2 separate regions of the Homo sapiens genome follow, and region 2 is linked to region 1. Evidence: promoter capture Hi-C in 16 types of primary human blood cells and fetal thymus (Javierre and others, 2016). All regions are on one chromosome and are shown on one strand. The core of a region is centred on a gene start or on the middle of the fragment in contact, and the rest is flanking DNA. Distances in the headings are between cores, read along the strand shown. Region 1 holds the start of EEPD1 (endonuclease/exonuclease/phosphatase family domain containing 1). Region 2 overlaps EEPD1 (endonuclease/exonuclease/phosphatase family domain containing 1).

Region 1 (6,494 bases), core at 2,994-5,493:
TCTAGGAAACCCAAAGAAGAAAAAAACAGGACAACCTTCACACTGGACAAGAGTCGTGAGGTCTCCTGCTCAGTGGGCTGCAGGGTGGAGCCAGCGCTGAGGCCAGCCGTCTTTGCTCACTCTCCTATTCTCTACCCTTCACATTCATAGGTCCTAGAAGATGAATAAGCTCCTCAACGCTTGGTCAGAAAGAATATCACAAGGTTGAATAATTATAAGGATGATCAAAACAATCAAAGGGGAAAATAAAAATGACAGTTGTACCTTGGTATCTGCAGAGATTGATTCCAGGAGCCCCTGTGATACCAAAATCCATGATGCTCAAGTCCCTGATATAAAATGGCATATTATTTACATATAACCTATGCACATCCTCCAGTATATTTTAATTCATCTTTAGATTACTTAGAATGCCTAATACAATGTAAATGTTATGTAAATAGTTACCATACTGGATTGTTTAGGGAATGACAAGAAAAAACTCGACATGTTCAGTATAGACACAACTTTTTTTTTTCCTGAATATTTTCCATCTACAGTTGGTTGAATCCATGGATGTGGAACCCACAGGTATGGAGGGCCGACTAGACCTGGAAAGTTCTGCATGAATTCACTAACCCTGCCAGAGGAAGGGGCTTCCAAGAGACAGAGGGACAGCTGATTGCCTAACACCTAGTACAATGGTTCTCAAACTTTAGTGTGCATCAGAACCACCTGGAGGGTGTGTTAAAACACAGAAACAAAGTTTCTGAGTCAGTAGCTGATGTTGCTGGTCCCCAGGGGGGACCACACTTTAGAAACCACTGACATAATAAATAGGCAGGGGCTGCCTGGTTGGTCAGTCCCACTGGACCAACTTTTGATCCTAATCCATCACCCCCCTCCCAAATTGAGCCACTAGAAAGCATAATAGGAATTAAGCAGCTTTGTCTTTCCTGCCTCTCCCCTCCTCATTTCCCATTCACACGCCCATGCTGCTATGGATAAAGAGAACAATTATCAAGCCATTCTTTATAAATATCTCCCGGTGCCGAGTACAGCTCTCACCTGTGCACAAGAAGACTTTGCAGAAGGAGTGAGTTAGGCTGCAAAAGAGAGGACACAGCAGTGCAGGGAGAGCATTCAAGGGCTCCCCAGTCCAGTTCCCTGACCCAGTGTGGAGTCCCTCTCTCAGTGATGAGAGCATGCCACTGGGTCAGTGCCAAGGAAACGTTGTGACCTGCTTTTCTCCTCACTAATTTTCCTGGTGATCTGCCATCATGCACTGTGATTTCCCGCTGAGAGTTCACTTCGTGTCACCAAACTGCTGCCCCCCCGCCGCCAGCCTCACCAACAACTCAGTGCAAAGGAAATCAACGAGTAGCCACAAACACTGCACCCCTGGTGGGTGGCAGGGCAAAACGCCTCAAGTCCAGGATCACAGCTCTTATGACCTGGAAGGGACCATCACAAATATTTCTTTCTTTCCCACACCTGATTACATTATACAGTTTGCTATTTTACTAACAGCAGGAGTTACTGCCAAAATAATATTGTTTTTGTTTATGACGAGGCTAACAGAAATTCCTACAGAGAGCAGTATTGTGAATAACATAAACGCTCTGTGGTAACGGCCTATCCTACTGGACTCTTTTCTTTGGTTTAAATGGGGAAAATCCGGCCAATTTTCACACACACACGTCAGCTTGCTTTTTTCTGGCTATGGCACAGAAAAGGTTACACACATTTTGGGCTACAATTTTAGGGCTGAAAACCAACTCCAGGTTAAATAAGGAAAAAGAATGGAGAGTGATTCATTCATAGCATTTTGGTAAATATAGACACTTGTATGTGTTTGCAAATACTTGGCCTTTAAGATGATTTTGTGTGCACAAATAGGCATATTTGATGGAACAAATATGATTTTCCCTCCCATTAATAAACAAAATCCAATGAGCTCTTTCTCACATGCGAAACTGCACCAGTTCCCATGCTCTGAGTGCCTGACTTGGTGTAGACCCAGCATCCTCCAAAGCAGTAACAAAAACACAACCTCTGCTTACCCCAAAATTATGAATCAGTCTCAGATATCTCACACTCAAGACATGGGTCACAAGCCCAGCTGTATTCAGAAAATTCTGGAGCAGAAGGACAGCCCATTCTCAGGTGACGGTATTGGCTGAGGCTTCAAGAACATTGATTAAAAACTCTTGCACCCTCCCTACCCGCAAAAGAATCCATTCATTTGCATCCATAGATGAGGTCACGCACAAGTTGCCTTCACACCCAACACCCATGGTGGTTCCTGTCCTCACCTGTTTTCCAGGAGTGTCATGCACACCACCTCTCGCACCCCGGGGTTGTTGGCCTTCTCCACGGAACAGCCCTGCAAGTTCCAGGTGGCCAGCCTCAGCACAGGCCTCCCATCCCTTGTGCCTCCAAAGGCCTCCACGGACGGCCGAGTGGAGATAATCTGGGTGGGCCCCCCTGGCGGCAGGTCCAGGTCCTCACTCTGCAGGCTCAGGGAAGTGGGGCTCGGGTGAGGCTTGGCGGTGAAGGTCAGTCCCCCGTTCGTGTGGGTGGATGGGGGCCTGGACCTCTCAGCAAACACCTGGTGCCGGATCCTGTCCAGGAAGGCGGCATTGATACCATCCATCCTCACTAGGTCCTCAACGCTGCGAAAGGGCCCATGCTCACGGCGGAAGTCCACGATGCTGAGGGCCATTTTCTCCGAGAGGCCTCGCACGCTCATGAGCTGGGCCGGGGTGGCTGTGTTGATGTTAACACGTGGGGTGAGGGGCACAGCTGTGGCCAGGTGGTGAGGCTGCTGCTCCGCTAGCAGGTCCCGCCGCAGGGAACTGGGAGAGTGCTGCGCTGAGCTGCCCTTGCTGCTCACACAGATCTCAAACTTGACCTGCTCCAGCTTGGTGGCGCCTACACCACTGACCAATGCCAGGTCCTCCACCTTCTTGAAGCCACCGATATACTCTCGGTACTCCACGATGCTGCGTGCCACGGCACGCGTCACCCCAGGCAGGGTCATCAGCTCCTCCTCCGTGGCAGTGTTGATGTTGAGCCGCTCCTGATTCACTAGAATGTTGCTGAAGTTACAGGCTGCGCTGAACTTGCGGCTATGGGACAGGTCCGAGGGGTCCCTGGGGATGGAGCGGTGGCAGCCCAGGGTGCTCCCCATGGTCCGCCAGGATCAGGCTCCCGGGAAGGCCGCACCACTGCAGAAGAGCTCTCTGGCTAGGGAGGAAGCCCAGTAGGCCGTACAAGCACAGAAAAACGGAAGGTGCAGGATTCAGGGACTGAAGAGGTTACTATAGACAAACACCGAATCTTCCATGCCTGGCGTGTCCAAAATTACCTTTCACTTGGCCGCCTAGAAAATAAATCAATAAACATAGAAACCCATTGAATTAAGAAATTTGCATTAGCACCCCCTACCTAGTGCTAGAGTTAGTAACCAGGAGTCGGGGACTGGTGGCTGCCCGTGAACCCCTAAAAACGCAGGCACAATGAGGCTAGGCCCATGTGGATTCTCCTCTAGGGACGTCCGGGTTTTATCACACTGGAGTCCAAAAAGGCTACGAGCCGCTTCTCTTGGGAAGAGACCTATCCCCATCAGCCTCATGCCTCTCCTCCAGGCCTCTCTCAACTCTGACACTTGGGTCACCCACACTTGGGCTCGCGCAGACGGGGTGGCCACTCCACCTCCCCCACGCTCCGCATCTGACACAGCGCTACCTGCAACCTGGGAAGTCCGTGCTCCCCGGAGCGGGCACTGAGAAGGGGCTTATCGACCCCCCACCCGACCTGCCGCGGGTCCCCGCGCCCCACCTCTCGGCCGCTCTGCGGGGCGCCGGTTCCTCTTCCACCTGCGGCTCGGAAGCCTGAGCCCAGCCCGGGACAGCACGGGCCCCCTGCCTCCAGCCTAGGCGTCCGCGCGGGTGTGGGTCACTGGTCAGGCCCTGGAAGCCGACTACGCCGCTTCGGTCTGCGTGTCCCGGCTCTTTCTATGGGAGAAACTTAGCATCGCTCTCCCAGAGTGAATAGAAGCCGCAGGGCTGCTCGGAGGCGGCGGCAGCGGCGGCGAAACCCGCCGCCGAGGCTGCACCGGGGCTTGCGGCGGCGCCGCCGCAGTTGCGTTTACCCCGGCAAAAAGTCCTGCGCCCAACTCGGGCGGGGATCCGCCAGAGCCAGTCCAGACCCAGCACCAGCCGCACGGCTCCCGCTCGCAGTCGGTGTCAAAGCCAAAGTCCCGGCCGCGCCGCGCCGCGCCGCTCGCGCCTCCGCAGGCACCGCGGCCACGCCTCCTCCGCGCGGCAACTCCTCCCCGGGACTCCCGAGGGCACGTGGGGGAGGGGCCCTGGCGCGGGGCGAGGCCTGGCACCAGTGGGTGGAGAGAGGAACCCGAGAGCGCAAGGGCGGGCCTGGAGTGGGAGAGGCGGGGCCATGGAAGAGGGGGCGGCATCAAGGCTCAAGAGGGTGGAGAACGAACCAGAGAGCGCGAGGGGAGGCCCTGGCGTGCGAGAGGAGGAGCCATGGGTGTGGGGGCGTGGCCTGGCACAAATGGGTGGAGAGCAGAACCCTGGAGCGCGTGGGGCGGGCCTGGAGTGCGAGAGGCGGGGTCATAGAGTGTGGGAGCGGGGCCAGGGCGCGATGGGGTAGGAAAAGCGGGGGCGGGGCCATGAGCGCGGGGGTAGGCCCCGGGAGCGCAGAGGCGGGACTTAGGGGGCTTAAGGGGCGGAGCCGGCGCCGTGCCGGCGAGGGCGGGTCACAGGGAGGCTGTCCTAAGTCAGCTGCCCCCGGACCATGGTTGCCGCCCGGGGCCTAGGACTGGTTGTGCCTGGTAGAGGCTGTTTAGGATTGCCCGAGGCGAGATCTGCTCAGCTGCTTTTCGTCTGTCTTTGAGGTGTGGGGATGAAGGCCGGGGCAGTCCCTGAGAGTGCATCGCTGTAGGTCCAGGGTCTCACGGAATTTTGCAGAACGTTCCAGAGGAGACTGAATGGGATCGTCTTAATTTCTGTCCCCACTTTCGGCCTTTTCTTTTCTTCCACCAGTGTATTACCTTTGCTCCGCTCAGAGAGATGTCCTCTAATAACGCCAGCGACGCATTGTGCTCCTAGCAGAGGGCACGCACCACCCTCCTGTGTGTTCGCATAGGTCAAATACAGGTTTGCTCCTTTGCACATTTAGCGCTGTGAGTAAACAAGGATAAGTTTTTGTAATATTAAGTCTAATCATTACGAAGGAGGGAAATGGGGGCTGCTTCCCAAAACCCAGAAGAGTTTTTGCATCACACTGCTAAATGACAATTTGGTTAAAGATTAAAGAGCCCTCTGCATTATAGTGGATACCTAGAGCTAGAGTATTCGATTAAGCAAATCATGCGGTGATATCGTTGAATACTTTGACCCTGGACGTTTAGTGTTCTCTGAAGTTTCATCCCCAACCAATGTGACCAGTGCATCTGGTTTCAATTCCAAGGACTGGGTCAGCAAAAATAGTACCTCTCACAGGCGGAAGGTACTTTGGTTGTAAAATTAGCGGCAGCCCAAGTTTGGAAAATGCTACTGCCTTTCTGAGGCACATTCCCCTGCTATGTATATTGGTCAGAAAACCAAGTCAAACTAGCTTAGACCAAAAAAAAAAAAAAAAAGGTCGGGGGGAAATTTTTGGTTCCTTGTTGAAAAGTTAAGGTAAGGAATCTTACCTCAAGTCTGGTTGCATCCGACCCAAGTGATGATGGGGTCATTAGGACATGGCAGGACTGCCTCCATCTCTGGCTCCACGGTTCTCTTTATTGGCTTTATTTTTAGGCAAGCTATTTGCACTTGATCGCAAAAATGCCTTGCTACCTACCATCATCTCCCACCCAAACACTGGGCTACATTATGCCACGCACTGAAATCCTGGTGCGGTAAGGAAAAAACAGTTTAAGACAAGCAGGAAAACAGAGAAAACTCTTCGTTGAGCAGAATGCCTTGATGCGCAACGTGGCTGTGGAAGCACAGCCGTGGAGCGTGGCTACTTGGGCTGGAAGCAGAGAAAACATATTTTATCATACAAACCAGGACACTCTGGAGGTGAAGAGAGGACTCTATTAATAATATCCTAGAACAACAGAAATAATCTGGTTTTATTCCCCATAAACCTAGCAAATGCTCCCCTTGGTATAAATGAAACCAAGCGTTGGCCAAACCAAAGTGCATTTAAAAACACACATACATACACCCCACAAAAACATGCAATGAGATGGTTAACTTTAAAACGACTGATTGTATCCAATGTTGGTGAGGACGCAGAGCAATTGAAATGGTCATACATTGCTGGTGGAGGTGTAAGATGGCACCACTACTTTGGAAATCAGTTTGGAAGTTTCCTAAGAAGTTAAACGTATACTTACCATATGACTCAACCAATCTACTTATAGGTATTTACCAAAGAAAAAGGAAAACATGAAACCCAGAGACTTGAATGTGGATGTTCATAGGAGCTTTGTTTGTTAT
Region 2 (6,494 bases), core at 2,551-5,050, 67 kb before region 1:
GCTCCACAGGAAAGTCCATTAGAAAGTTAATGACTTGGCTTAACTGCAGGAGATAAAACTAAAGTAGACTAGGCAATTTTATTCCTGGAAAATTTGGAAGAAAAGGCAGGGGAACAGACTGAAATGTAGAAAGAACCAATGAAGAGGAGAAAGAGGATTCAGTTGAAAGTGTTTTCCAGATGTTGGTACCCTGCTAAGCCTTGATTATATTATTTTACTTACATCTGCAAGTTTCTCCTTGCAGACACAGTTGTAACAAACTGCAGATTCTAAAGCTAAACTAAGTATTCAAGGACTGACTGTATGATTTGTACACTACAATATTAACTTTTCATCCTTCTCCCCCTGACCCTTGGCTTTGGGATACCTTAAGCCTTAACTGAAGAGGCAGGGATTTCGATTTCTATTTTACAGCTTCAGAGCAATGAAGTGGCTTATTCAGGGTCCACACAGGGATGAGGCCAAGCTTATATAATTTAAAAGCATGCACTGCTTTTTATTTATTCAACAAATATTTACTACGCATCTACTATGTGCCTGGCATAGTTCTCAACACCAGAGATAGGGCAAGGAACAAAACAGAATCTTGACTCTGACGAAGCTTACGTTCTAATGAGGGGTGGGGAGTGGTGGCCTGCAGGTCAATGTTTAACCACTGGCTCTAGGGGTGGGGGATGCAGAGGAGTTGCCTCATTTGCCAATTTCTGTGGTGTCTTACATACTCCCACCAAGGCCCATTTCAAGTCACCAGTCTGGTGTGACTCAGTGTGGAGCTGGGAAGAGATGCGCACAAAAAGCTCCCAAGAGCCCTTGCACACCAGCTCCACCCAGCATGCAATAGTGAGGAGGTGCTGAGGTCTGTGTTAAAATTTATTTCTTATTATTACTGTGTTAAAATTTATTTCTTATTATTACTTTTATTTATTTATTTATTTATTTATTTTTTGAGACACAGTCTCACTCTGTCGCCCAGGTTGGAGTGCAGTAGCGTGATCTTGGCTCACTGCAACCTCTGCCTCCCGGGTTCAAGCGATTCTCCTGTCTCAGCCTCCCAAGTAGCTGGGATTACAGGCACCCGCCACCACGCCTGCCTAATTTTTGTATTTTTAGTAGAGATGGGGTTTTGCCATGTTGGCCAGGCTGGTCTCGAACTCCTGACCTCAAGCGATCTGCCTGCCTTGGCCTCCCAAAGTGCTGGGATTACAGGCGTGAGCCACCTGTGTTGAAATTTAATGACCAGTGTGATGGCATTAGGAGGTGAGGCCTTTGGGAGGTGATTAGGACATGAGGGTTTAGTGACTTTATAAAAGAGGCACGAAGAGAGCTGCTTTGCTCCTTCCACCAAGTGGGGACCCCGCTAGAAGATGCCATCTATGAACTAGGAAATGGGCCCTTGCCAGACACTGAATTAGCCGGTGCCTTGATCTTAGACTCGCCAGCCTCCAGACTGTAAGAAATAAATGTCTTTTGTTTATAAATCACCCAGTATATAGTATTTTGTTATTGTACTCCAAAAACACTGAGACAGGAAGGATCTGCAACAAACATTATATAATTATCACATAATTATATAATGTGCAATATTTCTGTTATATATACAGTTCACCCTTGAACAATACAGGTTTGAATTGTGCGGGTCTACTTACAGGTGGATTTTCTTCTGCCTCTGCCACCCTGAGATAACAAGACCAACCCCTCCTCTTCCTTGTCCTCCTCAGCCTACTCAAAACATGGAGATGATAAAGATGAAGACCTTTATGATAATCCACTACACTTAATGACTAGTAAACATATGTTCTCTTCCTTATGATTCTCTTAATACCATTTTCTTTTCCTTAGTTTACTTTATTTGTAAGAATACAACATACAGTACATATGACATACAAAATACTTGTTAATTGACTATCAGGTTATCAGTAAGGCTTCTGGTCAACAGTAGGCTGGTAGTACTTATGTTTTGGGGGAGTCAAAAGTTCTATGTGAATTTTCAATTTTGCAGGGGAGGGCGGGTTGGCTCCCCTAACCCCCATGTTGTTCAAGGGTTAACGATCCTGAATACAATATAAAATAAATGCCACTATATAATGTGTCTAGTGATGATAAATGTATTAAAAATAAAGCCAGGTAAGGGAGTATGAGTGACAGGGAGCACAGGTACATGTGTGGCCAGTGTGCTGTGGGGGGGACACAGAGGACCTGTCCCATAAAAAGGCATTTGATCAGAGATTGGATTTTCTCATCTGTAAAATCAGGATAATGACTGCAGCTATTTAGAAAATCATTGAAATGGCATTTATTACAATATATTGCTTCTAGTATATAATAGGTACACCATAAATGACAGTTATTATATTTATCTGAATTGAAATGGACATGACCTCATACATGATTCTTACCTTTTTTAGAACTGATCAGAATATAAAGCTTTCATTCCTCAAAATCACACTGGTATTCTAGCCACTTAAAAAAACAGGATCTAAATGATTGACCCACAACCTGAAAATGTTCCTGTTACGGTGGAATTGCTGAGTTCAGATTTTATGGTGCCAGGCTGGTATATGCAGTCCTGCAGTGTCCCTGTTATTATTATTAAATAATCTGATTACATTCTTTAACAGTTAGCACTTTAATTCCAGATCAATCCAGGCTCATCCTTCTTAAAGAAGTACAAAGAATATTATAACTTTTCTGGAGCTGAGTATACAAAACAGTTTTGCTCTCCATCTTCTAAAGCTAAAAGTAAAAAGATACACAGATAATAAGCAAAACACATACCATAGAGCTGGCTCTTAAATACTTTCAAAGCTGTAACATTCATTCAAAATGCAAGTTTATTAAAAGATGATACGGAACAGAGCTCCAAAAGATAAGGTTGTATAAAATGTTGAAAAGAAATTACATATTAGGTTATTTTAAACTGAAGGATGAAACTCTTCCCTCAAACTGAGAAAAATTACTACCTTGATAATTTACAAATTCAGTGTAGTTGGCTGGACGCAGTGGCTCACGCCTGTAATCTAAACACTTTGGGACGCTGAGGCAGGCTGATCATTTCAGGCGAGGAGTTCTGGACCAGCTTGACCAACATGGTGAAACCCTGTCTCTAATAAAATACAAAAATTAGCCAGGTGTGGTGGTGTGTGGTGGTGGGCACCTATAATCCGAGCTACTCAGGAGGCTGAGGCTGGAGAATCACTTGAACCCAGGAGGTGGAGGTTGCAGTGAGCCGAGATTGCACCACTGCATTCTAGCCTGGGCACCAGAGCGAGACTCCATCTCAAAAAAACAAAACAAAACAAAACAAAAACCGAATTCAGTGTAGTTATAAGTTTGTTATGGGCAGAGGGTGAAAGGAGAAGGACAAAGCATTTTTCAATACCATCTGACACACTCTGAACCACAGACATCAGAGACATTTTCATGTTCTCTGCAGGATATGAGATGGAGTCGATGCCATTAGCTCTGCTCTAGAGATGAGGACAACGGGGCCAAATGAATAGAAAGAGCAAAGTGCCATTTGCCACTGGAGCTCAGGGCTTCTACAGGTACCTCTTTCTTTCATCCCAAACTTCCTCCCCAGTGTCACATCCAATTGGCAAGAGATGAAGCTATGGAACTTCCATGAGGTTCTTTTTGGTTATTCTTAATCCACGTGGTTATGATGATACAAGTCCAGATGTCTTCAAAGCAAGGAGGGCTCTCTGACTGGTACCATTCACCTCCCTAACCCAAGTGAATTGGGGACTTCTCCTTGGAACTTGAGCCTTTCCCTTCCCCCTTAAGTTTTTCAACATGCTTTCACCCAAGAAGGAGCCATCTGCTCAATAAAATCAGAAAATGCTGCAAACATCATCTGAAGGTATTTGTTCCTTCAGGAAAAAGTCATTTTTACCGCCCTTCTTCCCAATTGTTCTTCCTGAATTGTTCTTTGATTATTTCTTGGCTTTCACTGGAGGAAGCATGAGAAACAACAAGATCAAACTAGTTTTCTGCATCTACTGTGGGGACAGCATCCCCATCCTCCACGACCTCACCTGGTAGCAGAGGGGACTCTAGCTGGGCCTGTTCCCTTCTGTACTTCCATTTTCCTGTGCTCTTCTTCCCGCAACCTGCTCAGGCCATGTGGGATGGACTTCCAGGGGCCAATCATGTCTGATTTTCCTACCTTTCCTTTCCATTCACTAGCTTCCCCTCAAATACTGTAATCTTTCATGTTTTATATATCTCTTTATGTGTATCCAAGCCTGTGAGAATGAACACACACACACACACACACACACACACACACACTCTCTCTCTCTCTCTCTCTCTCTCTCTCTCTTTCTCTCTCTCTCTTTAAATGCATGCTGGCCAACTATCAGGCCAGTAATTAGGGGATTGGGCTGTTTTTGGTCCCCACTTCTTTCTTCTTCTTTCCTTCTTTCCTTCTTTCCTTCCTTCCTCTTCCTCCTTCTTCTTTTCTTTCCTTCTTTCCTTCTTTCCTTCCTTCCTCTTCCTCCTTCTTCTTCTTTTCTTCTTTCCTTCTCTCTCCCCTCCCTTCCCCTCTCCTTCCTTCCTTTCCTTCCTTTCCTTTCTTTCCTTCCTTCCTTCCTTCTTTGAAATAGGGTCTTGCTAAGTTGCTCAGGCTGGTTTCAAACTCAAGCAATCCTCTTGCCTCGGCCTCCCAAAGTGCTGGGATTACAGGTGTACACCACCACACCCAGCCAGGTCCCCACCTTTTGTATTTTGGAATTCATAGGAGATTCCTTGTTACTTGATTTTTTTTTTCCTGTAAAATGACCACGAGTTTAGGCTTTGCCATCTAGTTGCTCTTTTGTTCCTAACGTTTAAATTTTGAATTTTTTAAATCTACAAGAAAGTTTAGGGCACTATATGGTGAAGACTCATAGACACACTGCCTACATTCCACAATTAGCATTATCATTATCACACATCTGCCCACCCAATCAGACATCGATCCATCTTATTTTCTAAGATGGATTTCAAAGTATGTTACAATCCAATGATTTGGTTTTTGATATTTCCCACAAAGGAAAAATAATTTCTCTTATTTTCTGCAGGGAACTTCCTACAGACTTCCAGATACCAACCCGAAACCCCACTTTCTTGCTCTACCTAAACCCAGTATTAACACTTCTCCTCCAGGCCTTTCTCCTAGGCTCCAGCCTTAAGCTTTTATTAACCAAATTCCCTCCTCATCTGGACAAAATCGCCATTCTCCTTCCCACCAGCCTACTTCTCTTCCACCTTCTAATGTTCCCATCCTAAGCTTGTCAAGCCACCATAACATGCCTATTTCTAAGGCCCAACTTTACATTTGATCACATATTTTTAGCAAAAAGAGGGTGATATTTTCACATAGTACAGCAGTCACCCCATATCTGCAGTTTCACTTTTTTATGGTTTCAGTGACCCACAGTCAATCACAGTCCAAAAATATTAAATGGAAAATTCTGGAAATATACAATTCACAATCTCACACTGCACCGCTGTGTCTCACCAGGGATGTGAACCCTCCCTTTGCTCAGCGTCTTCATCTGCAGATGCTTCCCATCCTTTAGACACTTAGCAGCCTTCCTATTATCTCACATCAGCACAAGAAGAAGGGTGAGTCTGTACAGTATAAGGTGTTTTGAGAAAGAGAGAGACCACATTCACATAAATTTTATTACAGTCTATTGTTATAATTTTTTTTTTAGTTTTTTCCTCCTCTTCCTCCCCCTCCTATTAGAATTTTTCTATTTTATTATTATTGTTGTTAATCTCTTTCTGTGCCTAATTTATAAGTTAAACTTTACCATAGGTATGTATGGATAGGAAAAAACAGTATATAGGGTTTGGCACATCTGAAGTCTTGGAAGATAACCTCCGAGGACAAGGGGGACTACTGTATTCAGTATAAATGAGCCCCCCTCGTGCACTTGAAAATAGAATGATACTGGCTCTGCCCTGGGCCCCTAGGGACCGTTACGCAGTTCTTAATAACAATCAGAGTATCGTTTCTGCCCAGCCAGGCTTACTGCTGCTGTTCTCAACCACTCATTGCCACCATCTTAAGAACTTCTTGTTTCATTTCTCTAGGAAAGAGTAAGAGTGATTAACTGAACACACAAGAGAAAAAGAAATTTCTGCTTTCAGAGCATACTGAAAATTAGAAAGTTAGCTAACACAATACAGGGTCTGTGATTGCAAATTAATACTCCAGCCAAAATTCCTCCTTTGGCATTCACTGCTGACCTTTCACCTCTTAGCAAGGTTTCTCTTCCTTTTAGGCCAGGTGAAATTCACCTCTGGGTTTTGTTAGAGCCCATGGCCTCTCTAATCAGTAAAAAGCAATCCCCCCTCTCTCCCTGTAACACAAACCAGCCAGTTAGGTTCTCTGGGCAGGGAGTTGTTTACAATAGCAATTATAAGAGCACATTTCACAGGAATCTTTTGGTTATTTGTTTTAAAAGTTATCAGAGGCATTTGAACCAGAACAACTCCATCTTGAA

What was found. Contacts are between HindIII fragments. The CHiCAGO score rates a contact against its expected background, and 5 or more counts as called.
Region 2: a contact is called between a fragment that was not itself captured here and the fragment with the promoter of EEPD1 in region 1, in 1 of 17 cell types (monocytes). The highest score is 5.6, in monocytes.

The regions. Positions count from the first base shown.
Region 1 is chr7:36,151,003-36,157,496 of GRCh38, reverse strand. EEPD1 (endonuclease/exonuclease/phosphatase family domain containing 1) reads right to left here and starts at 4,243. Exons shown (of 8, transcript NM_030636.3): 1 at 3,823-4,243; 2 at 2,295-3,364. The coding sequence starts at 3,172. RefSeq lists a silencer at 4,112-4,831. The HindIII fragment of the contact is 12,213 bases long and covers 1-6,494 here.
Region 2 is chr7:36,217,603-36,224,096 of GRCh38, reverse strand. All of the region lies in intron 2 of EEPD1 (endonuclease/exonuclease/phosphatase family domain containing 1), which reads right to left. Among named protein-coding and RNA genes, the nearest start is that of EEPD1, 68 kb to the right of the region's middle. The HindIII fragment of the contact is 2,748 bases long and covers 2,427-5,174 here.